2 separate regions of the Homo sapiens genome follow, and region 2 is linked to region 1. Evidence: promoter capture Hi-C in human tissues and cell types (Jung and others, 2019). All regions are on one chromosome and are shown on one strand. Each heading gives the region's core, a stretch centred on a gene start or on the middle of the fragment in contact. The rest is flanking DNA. Distances are from core to core; before and after follow the strand shown.

What was found. Contacts are between HindIII fragments. The study calls those that stand out against the background at their distance.
Region 2: a fragment that was not itself captured here is called in contact with the fragment with the promoter of UBE2E2 in region 1 in 2 of the 25 tissues and cell types used here (lymphoblastoid cells and spleen).

What each region holds. Positions count from the first base shown.
Region 1 is chr3:23,198,513-23,205,302 of GRCh38, forward strand. UBE2E2 (ubiquitin conjugating enzyme E2 E2) reads left to right here and starts at 4,815. Exons shown (of 6, transcript NM_152653.4): 1 at 4,815-4,952. It overlaps UBE2E2-DT (UBE2E2 divergent transcript), which reads right to left and starts at 4,481. Exons shown (of 2, transcript NR_136176.1): 1 at 4,352-4,481. RefSeq lists enhancers at 3,488-4,463, 3,876-3,935 and a silencer at 4,286-4,975. The HindIII fragment of the contact is 11,420 bases long and covers 2,625-6,790 here.
Region 2 is chr3:23,768,393-23,774,347 of GRCh38, forward strand. No RefSeq gene overlaps it. Among named protein-coding and RNA genes, the nearest start is that of UBE2E1, 35 kb to the right of the region's middle. The HindIII fragment of the contact is 6,533 bases long and covers 1-4,540 here.

The DNA of each region.
Region 1 (6,790 bases), core at 3,565-6,064:
TTTTCTTTTTACTAATGTGTAGGTGTGGAGATAAATAAAGCATGGTGTATGCCCTTCAGAAGTTCACAGCAAAGTAAAGAGTGTAGGCTTTTAAACAGTGTAAGGTACAGGGAGACATGCGGTGTGGCTGACCTAGAAGACTATTTGCAAGAGAAAGTGGCAAACTCAAGTGAGAGAATTACACCTAGACTTGAGGGTGAGATGATCTCCCACTTATCAAAGCACCAGGAAGACTAGTAGCTCACACTTCTATTGTACTTACTTTGCTTCAAGTCTATTCAAGTCGCAGACATACATTAACTCATTTAATCTTCCCTCTGACCCTATATAAGAATTGGCCATTCAAATAAGCCCCATTTGTAGGGGAGAACTCTGAGGCAGTAAGAAGTTAAACCACTTGCTCATGGTCACATAAGCAGCAGCAGAACCAGGATCTAGAAACAAGATAGCTCAGTTCCAAAGCATCTCTGCAATGCCCAGGAAAGGCGCCAACCAGGGCAAGGCTTTTCCGTCTGCTTCTTTCTGAGGTTTCTCCATATTTTTATTTATTGTACTAATAGCATTATAATAACTACAACAAAGAAAACCTCAACTACAATCTCATTGCTCAACAAATCTCCGATTCTTTCCTTTCTGTTTGGTTAGTCCTCTCCACAGCCAGTTCTTCGTTTCTTACTCCTGTGGTATCTAAAGACAGCCCCTCAGAACCACTTTTCTTTTTTTTCCTGGCCTGTGCTGTCTCTTGAGATCCTTTACTTATGTCTCAGTACCTCCTTAAGCCTCTATGTTTGCAGTTACTGAGAAGTTAGGTGCAATAGTCCATTTCAGGAGTTAGTGGGACTCCTCTCCCTGGAAGACCTACCATGACAGCAACCTCCTTGATACATGGAGAACTTGAGGGGGAACTTCATCATTAGTGAGCAGAGAGCATGGTGTAGTAATCATCTATTGATGCATAACAAATTACCCTTAAAACTTAGTGGCTGAAAATAACAAACATTATCTCCAGATTCCAGAGTGGCTTAGCTGGGTGTTTCTGGCTCAAGGACTTTCAAGAGTTTGCAGTTAAGATGTTGATCAGGGCTTCATTATCTGAAGGCTTAGCTAAGGCTGAAGGATCTGCTTTAAAGCTTACACATGTGGATGTTAGCGGGTCTTATTTTTTAGTCACATGGGCCTCTCCACAGGGCTGCTCACAATATGGCAGCTAGCTTTCCCCAGAGTCAGTGACAGCAAAGAGAGAGAGAGAGCATCAGTGTGTGCGCAACCAAGATGGAAGCCCTAAACTAATCTTGGAAGTGACATACCCTCCTTTCTCACAGCATTACACCAACCCTAGCATGACGTAGGAGGGGATTACACAAGGGTGTGAATACCAAGAGGCAGGGATCAGTGGGACATCTTAGAGACTGATTACCATACTCAGGCAACGTCTAGGGGTGAGAGGAGCAGCCACACTTCTATGTTTGCATCTTAATTTACATGAATGGCACCCCCTGATACTTTGCAGTGTACAAAATACACGATCATACATAGTGGTCCAGGTAGCAGTTCCTGAACAAATGGGGAAGTCAGGGGAATTTGTCCTCAGTACACTTCTATTCCCTGCTAGAATTTCATTTATTTATTTATGAAACAAACATTTTTTTAAAGCACCTGGTCGTACCTTTGCGTTGGTACTGAACTAGGTAGGTAATGGGGTTGCAGTTCTATTGGAGTTTCAATTTTCCTACACCACTGTTGCCCTTAAGTATCCAAAACATTCGGGGTGACTACAGCCTCCTTCAAGCCAGACAGTATGCAACAGATCATTGTTTTCTATCCCATTCTTTGGAAAACCTGAGCTAATATGATGTTTCTTTCAAAGGGTATAATATAAATATGTAATAACCCCTGATAATTGGGTGCCTAACAAGAACAGAAGTTGCCTAAATAAGTAGCAGGGCTCTACCAGTATAATGCTTCTGCTCAAATTCAGCCCAGTTCCCCTGAGAGAGGTCTTTTCTATCACCCATCCAGTCAAACTGGAAAACTAACTGTGGCTCTACTTACTCACGAAGTTGGCAGTAACAACGTTTTAAGAAGGACCCTTCAAAAAACATTCCAATTTGCCAGTTGCAGGGGGAAAAAACGTAGGCTCTAAATTAATGATCAGAAATAAGAAATGTAAGAAAGGAGTGAGTTCATGACGACAGACTGATGGACCAGAGCAGAAAATATAAGGAAGATGAGCTATTTGTCTTGGAGACCAAGTTTGCACCGCAGAAGAGAGAAATAGAGAAAATCAAATAAATATTTATGTCTGTAACACCAGACTCATGGTAAAGTGTCCTTAAGTTCACAGACTCCAGAGCCAAACTGCTGATTTCGAGTCCCAGCTCTGCTCCTCACTAGCTATGTGACTGTAGGTGAGTGACTTAATCCCTCCGTACCTCAGTATTCTCATCTGTACAGTGGGGCTGATTGGATAAAACCAACCTGTGTGGTGGTTGTGACCTAGTATAACTAAAGTGCTTAGCATGCTGCCTAGCACAAATTAAGAACACGGTAAGTACTAATTATTGAAGAAATTAGAAACAATACCTATTGTGTCATCAACTGAAAGAGACCAATTTCTTTCACTCGGTCATTATCTATTGAATATATACAGCACTGAACCCCAGACGACGAAATCCTTTTTCTCAAGGTGCTTTTACGTGGGAGGGCTGGGAGAGGGAGGAAAAAGAAAGCAGAAGGGGGAAACTAATAAATAAGTAAAAAAATGTATTATGTCAGGTGGTGATCATGGAGAAAAAGCAGAGGATGTGGATAGGAAGTTCTGGGGGAGGAGTGGGAGGAAAGAATGTTCTAGAGATAGGAAATAGTAAGTACACAGGTCTTGAGGCTGAGGAATGCTTGGTGTGTCCATAACTGCAAGGCCGGTGTGGCTGGAAGGAGACGAGGATGGAGTGAAATCGTACAGCTTGAGGTCAGGGGAATCCTGGCTGGGAATGGTGGGCACATCATGCAGGCCATGTATCCATATTTTGCACTTTGGCTGTTGCTCTATGATGGGAAGCCACTGGAATTTTTGAGAAGAAGAGAGACATAATCTAATCTTTGTTTTAAAGGACAGTCGGCTGTGTGTAGGTGTTGGGGAGGGAGGAGGCGGAGAGTGGGAGGTAGAAAGATCAGGTAGGAGATAATTATTGAGAGATGATGCCTTAGACCAGGACATTAGCAGTGGGGAGGGGAGTGAGACGGAGTGGACATTTTCACCATATATTTGTGAAAACAGAGTCAACAGAATTTGCTGACGAATGTGATGCTGAGTGTACAACAGAGAAGGTTCAGACATAGGGAAGTTCTGAGGACAAGGATTTTTTTCTTTTATTCAATGTCATATATCTACCACCTAGACAGTGCCTGGTATCAATAAATATTCCTTGAATAAATGAAAAGGGTAACTGATTTGTATTAAACCCATTTTGAACTTAGTAAATAGCAGTTAAAACATCTACAGTCAAATGAAGTACTGTAGCAACCATAATTTCAGCAATTAAGCAGTGAAAGATCTTCCAATCCTTTCCTCCACAAAGATAGAAGTTAATTTTGCTGCATCCCTGGACACCCCGTTGCCAACGACCCAGCATTCCGTTGGTAAGTGAGGCTGGAGGTTGGAGTGGGAGAAATTTCGTGGAAGCTAAGTTCGCAAAGCAGGTACGTTTTTTTTTTTTTTTTAAACGGTTATTTGGGATGAGGAGTACAACGGAACCTAATGTTCCCTCATGCCACCTACAGCACTGCTACTGTTCCCATATCCTTCAACTGGGCATGAAGGCAGCTTCCCACTCACTCTGACAGTGGTGCACCCTGTACCCCCACCCCTCTCTTCAATACCCCAGGGCTAAACGGCCCGAAGCTCCTCTCTACCGGCTGGTGCGCATTCTGGGCCAGGGCGAGCCAAAAGGCAGAAGGGCCTTCGTGCTGCAGTGTCTGGTGAAGACTCAGGCTTAGCCTGGAAGAAGTTTCCAGGCCAACGTGAAGTTTTCCTGTCTTGGGTACATGCGAGCCCCACGCGTCTGCGAGTTTGGGTTAGTGTGTCAACAGGGTCAGTCCCCGTATCTACTTTGCGAAAGCTTCGAGGCGAGCGTGAAGTCAAGGGCTGCGGTGGATGGGGGTAAAAGGCCTCCTCGTCCCACTGCCTGCACCGTCTTGGGGTAACCCCTAACCCCCAGCCGGCGTTTCCCTTTAATGCGCGTGCCCGGCAAGGTCCTCGCGTCCCCTCCCCTCAAGCCACCCCGTCAGCCTCGGTTTCCCCCACTTCTCCCCGTCCTTGTCGTTCCTTCCCCGTGGGACGCCCCTCGCTCACCCCCGTCAGAGCCCAGTCTGCGCGCGGGACCCAGCTGTCACTTTACTTTTCCTCGCCGCCTCCCCACCCCCTCTCCCGACCGGCGGGGCAGCCCGCCCGGGCGCGCTCCCGCCCCCGCCCCCTCGCGGCCGCGCGCCGGAGGAGGAGGGGCGGGGGGAGGAGGGAGGCGCGCGGCGCCGCATGGCCGACGTGGGGCTCGCGCTCTCGCGGTCTCTCCCGGGCGGGCGCGCAGGCACGCGCACTCGCGGGTGCGCGCGCGGACGGCCGGGCGGCGGCGGCTCCCGGAGGTGGTGGCTTCACTTTCCAGGACTCAGGGGCAGCCACAGCGACAGCCGCGGGCAGCAGCCTCAGGAGCCGGAGCTGGAACGGCCGGGGGCGGCGGCAGCGGCGGCGCTGAGGGTGAGTCCGGGCGGGCGCGAGCGCGGCGGGGACAGGCGTGGTCGGGTGCGTGGTGCGTGGGTCCGGCTTTCGGTGACTAGACGGTCCGCAGGGGACATCCCGTCCCTGGGGCCTCCCCAGTCTCCCTCCCCCTCGCGCCTGGGCAGCTCTCTCCCAGGGCTTCGGCTCGAGCCTGCGACCTGCACGGACACCCCCCCCTCAGGTATTCGCTCGGGCCGCGCCGGTGCCTCCCCTCCTCGGGCGTCCTCCCTCTCGCTGACGTCCTCCTCACTCCCCCGACCTCCCCTCCGCGTCGCAGGTCTCTGCTTACACCGCTCGTGCCCTAGTTCCCTCCTTCCTCGCTCCCCGTGCCCGGTTCCCTACGCCCCCTCCCGCGAGCCTCCTGCCCCCGTTTCTCGCCCTTTCTACCCCTCCCCCTTCTTCCCATCCCCCCCTTCTGCCTCTTCTCTCCCTGTCCTCCTTCTACCCCCTTCCGTTCTCAGTTCCCCATCCTTCTCAACCCTCCCAGCGCTTTCCTTCTCCTAGCCGCATCCTGGAACTAAGTCTTTTCAAAAGTACAGGATAAATGTCACGGTGGAAAGTGCCCGGCTTGATCTTTTGCTATTTTCCCTAATTGCATAATTGCTGCACATGGTGTGTCTCCTGGCGAGTGCCGGGTTTGGCTCCTTCGCCGCCGCACCCCGGTGGCCCGCCCGGAGAAGACCTTGTGGGGTATATTTGTGTGTGTCCTGGTGAGGGGTGTGTGTTGTATTGGTCTTTTGTGATGCCTGGCGCTTGTCACAGTTTGGAACCGAAGCCCATTTTTCTCTGGTCTCTTCTCTGCAGCCCCCACTGGCCTGGTTTGAAACTGGATTCCCTCTGTCCTCTCCCCCTTCCCGCCCACCCCACTTCTCCCCCTCTTTTCTCCGATCTCTCTCATAATGTTTTGATCTTTTTGCCCTTTACCATTTCTAATGAAGATAAAGCGTGGCTTCTTGTGGCTTTTTTCCCCCACGACCAACCAGAAATGTCCAATCCATCTTCCCTTAAGGAAATTAAGGCTGCTTTAGAAAGACATCATCCTGTGCTCGGTGGCTGTTAGACCCATTTGCATGTTTTCAAGATTCATCGTTTTGTATTGTGTATTCTTGAGAGTCTACTAAAATATTTTTATTTAAAAGTACGAAAGGAAGTGCTAGGGTTTACCCTCAAAGTATCTCGCGGTTCTAAAGGATTTTACGCTCTTCTTAGTTTTTAATCCCTGATTTCTTTAAAAAGTATGTTTCTAGATATGTGATAATTCAGTCTGGACTTTGTGAATCTAAATATTTGCCTTTACTACGGCAATTTGGATGCTCCTTGGCTCTTTGGAATTCTGTATGTGGGCTGACGCTGAAATAGAGTGTTTTCATATAATGCCATACCCCATTCTCTTTCCCCTGCAGCACCTTTTACCCCCAAATCAGGTGTTCCACTGTTATTTTCTGCATAAATGTCTTTGCAGTTAAATTTAAAGCTGGATATTGCTGTGTGCATATACTATATATTTATTTTACATTTTAGAAAAGTTTAGAAACATGAGTAGGAAGACAGCAAGACATATATGACAGAATTAAACGCTTTCCTGTTATAAAAGCTTAAATGAACACTTGGTTTTGCAGTTTTATACTAGTAGATACTGTTATAAGGCTTACCTGGGTAGTAGGCTGGATTTATGGAATGACTATAGTTGCCTTTATGTAGTCAGTAATATTTCAAGCCAAATCATTTCATTTTTATGGAACATGTGAGTTTCATTCACTGTATGTTGCTAATTTCCAGGACTGTAATTACAACATAGGGTACATAGCTAATACAAGCTTAGACAGTTTGTGTTGAAGAAGTAACAATATGTAAGCCTCTTAATATAGTTTTAGGAAGGACTACTTATTTTATGGTTAAAAATTAAATTTTACTTTGAGTTATGAAGTAAGCGTATTTATCTCTCTCAATATCTTTGAAAGTATCATTGGAGAGTAGCTGTTTGTTTATAACCCTGGGATTTAAGTTTATCTTCCCTGT
Region 2 (5,955 bases), core at 24-2,523, 570 kb after region 1:
ACCATATGATACAGCAATTTCACTCCTAGCTATATACCAAAAGAATTAAAAACAGGTGCTCAAACAAATTCTTGTATGTGAATGTTCATAGTAGCACTGTTCATAATAGCCAAAAAGCAGAAACAACCCAAGTGCCCATCAACGGATGAATGAAAAAACAAAATAGGTACATTTGTACAATGAAATATTATTCAACTATAAAAAGGAATGAAGTATTGATGCATGCTACAGTGAGGATGGAACTCAAAAACATGTTAAGTAAAAAAAGCCAGACACAAAAGGCCCCATATTGCATGATTCCATTTATATGAAATACCCAGAATAGGTACATCCATAGAGATAGAAGATAGCTTGGCGGTTGCTAGGGACTCATGGGAAGGGGAAATGGGACATGACTGTTTAATAGGTCTGAGGTTTCCTTCTGGAGTTCGTAGAGGTGGTAGTTGCACCACATTGTGAATGTTTTTTGTTTTTTGTGTTTTTTTTGAGACGCATTCTCACTCTGTCACACAGATCGTGCAGTGGCGCGATCTTGGCTCATTGCAAGCTCTGCCTCCTGGGTTCATGCCATTCTCCTGCCTCAGCCTCCTGTGTAGCTGGGACTATAGGTGCCTGCCACCACGCCTAGGTTTTTGTATTTTTAGTAGAGACAGGGTTTCACCCTGTTAGCCAGGATGCTCTTGATCTCCTGACCTCGGGATCTGCCCGTCTCAGCCTCCCAAAGTGCTGGGATTACAGGCGTGAGCCACCACGCCCAGCCATGAATGTATTAAAGGTCACTGAATTGTACACTTTAAAATGGTGAATCTGACCAGGCATGGTGGCTCAAGCCTATAACCCAATACTTTGGGAGGCTAAGGTGGGAGGATTGCTTGGGGCCAGGAGTTTGAGTTCAGCCTAGGCAACACAGCAATACTCCCTCTCTATATAAAATAAAAATTTAAAAATTAGCCAGGTGTGGTGGCACGCACCTGTAGTCCCAGTTACTTAGGAGACTGAGATAGAAGGATCACTTGAGCCCAGGAGTTTGAAGTTCACATTCATATTCTCTTTCAACCATCAAAACTATTGTATGACATAGATATTATCCCCTTTTTACATACAAGGGTCCCAGTAAACCATGATCATGCCACTGTACTCTAGCCTGGGTGGCAGAGCAAGACTTTGTCTCTAAAAAATAAAATAAAATAATTAATTTTATCTTATGTGAATTTCACCTCAATTTCTTAAAACTGCACGTAGGGCCGGGTACAGTGGCTCATGCCTGTAATCCCCGCATTTTGGGAGGCTGAAGCGGGCGAATCACAAGGTCAGGAGTTCAAGACCAGCCTGGTCAACATAGTGAAAACTGTCTCTACTAAAAATACAAAAATTAGCAGGGCGTGGTGGCAGGCACCTGTAATCCCAGCTACTGGGGAGGCTGAGACAGGAGAATCGCTTGAACCCGGGAGGTGGAGGTTGCAGTGAGCCAATATCACTGCACTCTAGCTTGGGTGACAGAGCGAGACTCTGTCTCAAAAAGTAAAACTGCACTTAGACTTGTGGTAGTCTATGTTTGTTGAACCATTTATACCAACCAAATATTTCAGCATGTATACCCTAAAAACAAATACATTATCTCATATGGTTCTGGGAAAATGATCAAATTCAGAAAGTTGAACATTCATGCAATACTATGATTTAAGCTACAGTCCACATTCAAATTTTGCCAGTTTCTCAATGATGTTATTTAAAGCAATTTTCTGGCCAATTTAGAATCCAAGATCATAAAATACATTTAGGTGCCAAGCCTCTTCTTTAATCTGGAAGCACCTCTCAGTGTTTAAATGTTTTTTATTGATTTATTTTTTGTTCTTTCCTGACATTGCCATTTTTGAAGGGTACAGGCCTGTTGCTTTGCAAACTGTCTCTTCTTTTGGGTCTGTCTACTGTTTCCTCATGAGTAGAGTCAGGTTATGCATCTTTTGTAGGAATACCCCGGAATTGACACTGTCCTTCTTCATGCGTCACATCAATCTGTCCCATTAATGATTATGTCCACTTTAATCACTTGGATTAGGTGGTGTCTGCCAGGTTTCTCCACTGCAAAACTTTTTTTCCTCTTTGTACTTAACAATAGTGTATGCTGGCTAAAAAGGAGAAACCCCGTCTCTACTAAAAATACCAAAAAAAATTAGCCGATCGTGGTGGCGGGCGCCTGTAGTCCCAGCTACTCGGGAGGCTGAGGCAGGAGAATGGCGTAAGCTTGGGAGGCGGAGCTTGCAGTGAGCCGAGATTGCGCCACCGCACTCCAGCCTGGGCGACAGAGTGAGACTCCGTCTCAAAAAAAATAAATAAATAAAAATTAGAAAAAAAATAGTGTATGCTATTTCTAAGGTCTAACAAAACTAATTCATAAAATCATTTTTTTTGGTGCCAGCTGCTATTTTTATCACTCAGCCATTCATTCAATCTCTACCTAGTCCAGGGTGGACATAAAGCTATAGTGCATAGAATAGTCCTTGCCTTCAAAGAACTCATTGCTCTGTCAGGGAGCCAGGTTCTAAAGCCCCCAAACTCTGGAGTATCAAGTCTGTTCTTTATATTAGCTATGTTTTAAAGTCAATTCTGGCCAGGCGAGGGGACTCACACCTCTAATCCTGGCACTTTGGAAGGCCGAGGCGGGAGGATCACCTGAGGTCAGGAGCTCAAGATCAGCCTGGTCAACATGACAAAACCCCGTCTCTGCCAAAAATACAAAAATTAGCCGGCTGTGGTGGTGGGTGGCTGTAATCCCAGCTACTCGGGAGGCTGAGACAGGGGAGTTGCTCAAACCTGGGAGGCAGAGGTTGCAGTGAGCCAAGATTGCGCCACTGCACTCCAGCCTGGGTGACAGAGTGAGACTCCTTCTCAAATAAATAAATAAATTCTGTAAGCTGAATGCAAAAGAGAGCTGTATGAGAACCAAAGACAGAGCATAATCATGTTGGCCGTGAAAACCAAGCAGTTGTTAAACTCTCATAAACACTAGAGCTAATGAGTGTAGAATATTCCACTGGATTGAGCAAAGAGCTGAAATAATAACACATAGGCTCATGCACAGACTTTTGTTGTAAAACCTATTTCAATATTTTGTGCCTTTGGCATAATAATTGCTTTTTTTATAGTTTAATATTTTTAATAGACTGATTCTTGAATTGTTGGAATAAAACTTGAATTAAAAGGGATACTGAGAGAGTAATGATAAATAAGTACCCAACCTGGAGGCACAGTTAAGCTGCTGTTATGTGACTGCCAATGGACTTGTTTTCACTTATTCACTTTCCCTTGTGTGATTAATCTTTATTGTCCCCAGTGTGAATTGTCAAAAGGAGGGGGGGAAGCATACTGACAAAAATACATTTCTTGTGCAACTCCTAAGTATTTATCATACTGTGTTGCTTTATTAATTTTGAGTGCTGGGAAAATGGTAAAAATACAATGTAGAATTAAAGAATAACATATATATGTGTAAAATCTCAGATATTTGAAAAGATTATAGCCTCAGTTTCTAACAATTTTGCAGCAGTTTCTAATAAATGCACTGCACCATCATCGTTTCAGTGCCTTATCTAGAAGAGAACTGCATCCTCACCACCACATACCTGATGAAGACACAAGAGCAGGCAGCCCAGAGGAGGGTGGTCAGTGGGTATTTTAAGCCATTGCTTTTTTTTTTTGAGATGGAGTCTTGCTCTGTCGTCCAGGCTGGAGTGCAGTGGCGCAATCTTGGTTCACTGCAACCCCTGCCTCCCGGGTTCAAGCGATTCTCCTGCCTCAGCCTCCGGAGTAGCTGGTACTACAGGCACACGCCACCACACCCGGCTAATTTTTTGTATTTTTAGTAGAGACGGGGTTTCACCAGGTTGGCCAGTCTGTTCTTGAACTCCTGGCCTCAAGTGATCCACCTGCCTCGGCCTCCCAAAGTGCTGAGATTACAGGTGTGAGCAGCTGCGACCAGCCAAGTCATTGCTTTTTTTTTTTGAGATGGAGTTTCGCTCTTGTTGCCCAGGCTGGAGTGCAGTGGTACGATCTCAGCTCACTGCAATCTCCACCTTCCGGTTTCAAGCGATTCTCCTGCCTCAGCCTCCTGAGTAGCTGGGATTACAGGCACCCACCCCCATGGACAGCTAATTTTCATAGTTTTAGTAGAGACAGGGTTTCACTGTGTTGGCCAGGCTGGTCTCAAACCCCTGACCTTGTGATCCACCCACCTCAGCCTCCCAAAGTGCTGGGATTACAAGTGTGAGCCACCAAGCCCAGCCGTCATTGCTTTTTAAACTGAAAAAAAAAAAAAAATGCTTCTTCTTTGCTCTCAACCTGCTTTCTCAGGCCTGGTTACATTTTTTTTTTTTTTTTAGATAAAATAAAAAATTTTAATACTTCATTAAAAAAAATAAGCCTTTGGCACTCCTACGGCCTGGTTACATTTCTAGATCTGTTAGTTGTGATGTTGTTTTTTTAAAAATAGTAATTATTGAGCTAGGCATGGTGGCTCGTGCCTATAATCCCAGCTACTCAGGAGGCTGAGGTGAGGGGATTGCTGGAGGCTAGGTGTTTGGGGCTGCAGTGAGCTATGATTGTTCCATGATTGTTCCACTGTATTCCAGTTTGGGTGACACAGCGAGATCTTGTCTGTCTCCAGAAAAAAAGTCATCATTTTGTTTTGCTTAAGTAATGCATGTTTATCATAGAAAATGTAGACTGTAGCACATTAAAAGAAAAAAATTACTCATAAATCCCATCCAGAAACAATTATATATAAATAACTCTATATACAAAATTTTAAGGCATGTTGAGTTCCAGTTCCCTTTCATATGATAAAATATATGCAGATGGTCCCTGACTTATAATGATTCCACTTTTTTTTTTTTTTTTGAGACAGGGTCTCACTCTGTCCCCCAGGCTGGAATACAATGACATGATCATGGTTCACTGTAGCCTTGACTGCCTGGGCTCAAGCAATCCTCCAACCTCAGCATCCTGTGTAGCTGGGACTGCAGACACATATCACCATGCTTACCTATTTTTATTTTTTGTAGAGACAGGATCTCACTATGTTGCCCAGACCAGTCTCAAACTCCTGGGCTCAAGTATTCCTTCTGCCTCAGCCTCCCCAAGTGCTGAGATTATAGGTGTGAGCCACCAGGCACGGTCCACTTACTGGATTTTTTGACTTCAGGATGGTGTGAAAACAATAAGCATTCAGTAGAAACTTCAAATACCCATACAACCATTCTGTTTTTCACTTTCAATACACTATGCAATAAATTACATGGGGGCTGGGTGCGGCGGCTTATGCCTGTAATCCCAACACTTTGGGATGCCAAGGCGGGGGGATCACCTGAAGTCAGGAGTTTGAGACCAGCTTGGCCAATATGGTGAAACCCCGTCTCTACTAAAAATACAAAAATTAGCTGGGTGTGGTGGCATGTGTCTGTAATCCCAGCTACTCGAGAGGCTAAGTAAAGTAGGAGAATCGCTTGAACCCGGGAGGCGGAGGTTGCAGTGAGCCAAGATCACACCACTACACTTCAGCCTAGGAGACAGAGCAAGACTCCATCTCAAAATTAAAAAAAAAAAATTCCATGAAATATTCAACACTACTATAAAATAGGTTTTGGCCAGGCATGGTGGCTTATGCCTGTAATCCCAGCATTTTGTGCGGGCTGAAGAGGTAGGATTGCTTGAGCTGAGGAGTTCAAGACCAGGCTGGGCAACATAGGGAGACCCTATCTCTACAAAAATTAGCCAGGCATGGTAGCACACGTCTGTAGTTCTAGCTACTTCGAGAGGCTAAAGCAGAAGGATCGCTTGAGCACAGAAATTTGAGGCTGCAGTGAACTATGATTATACCACTTCACTCCAGCCTGGGTGACAGAGCAAGACTCTGTTTCTAAAAATAAATAAATAAGTAAATAATAACATAAAATAGGC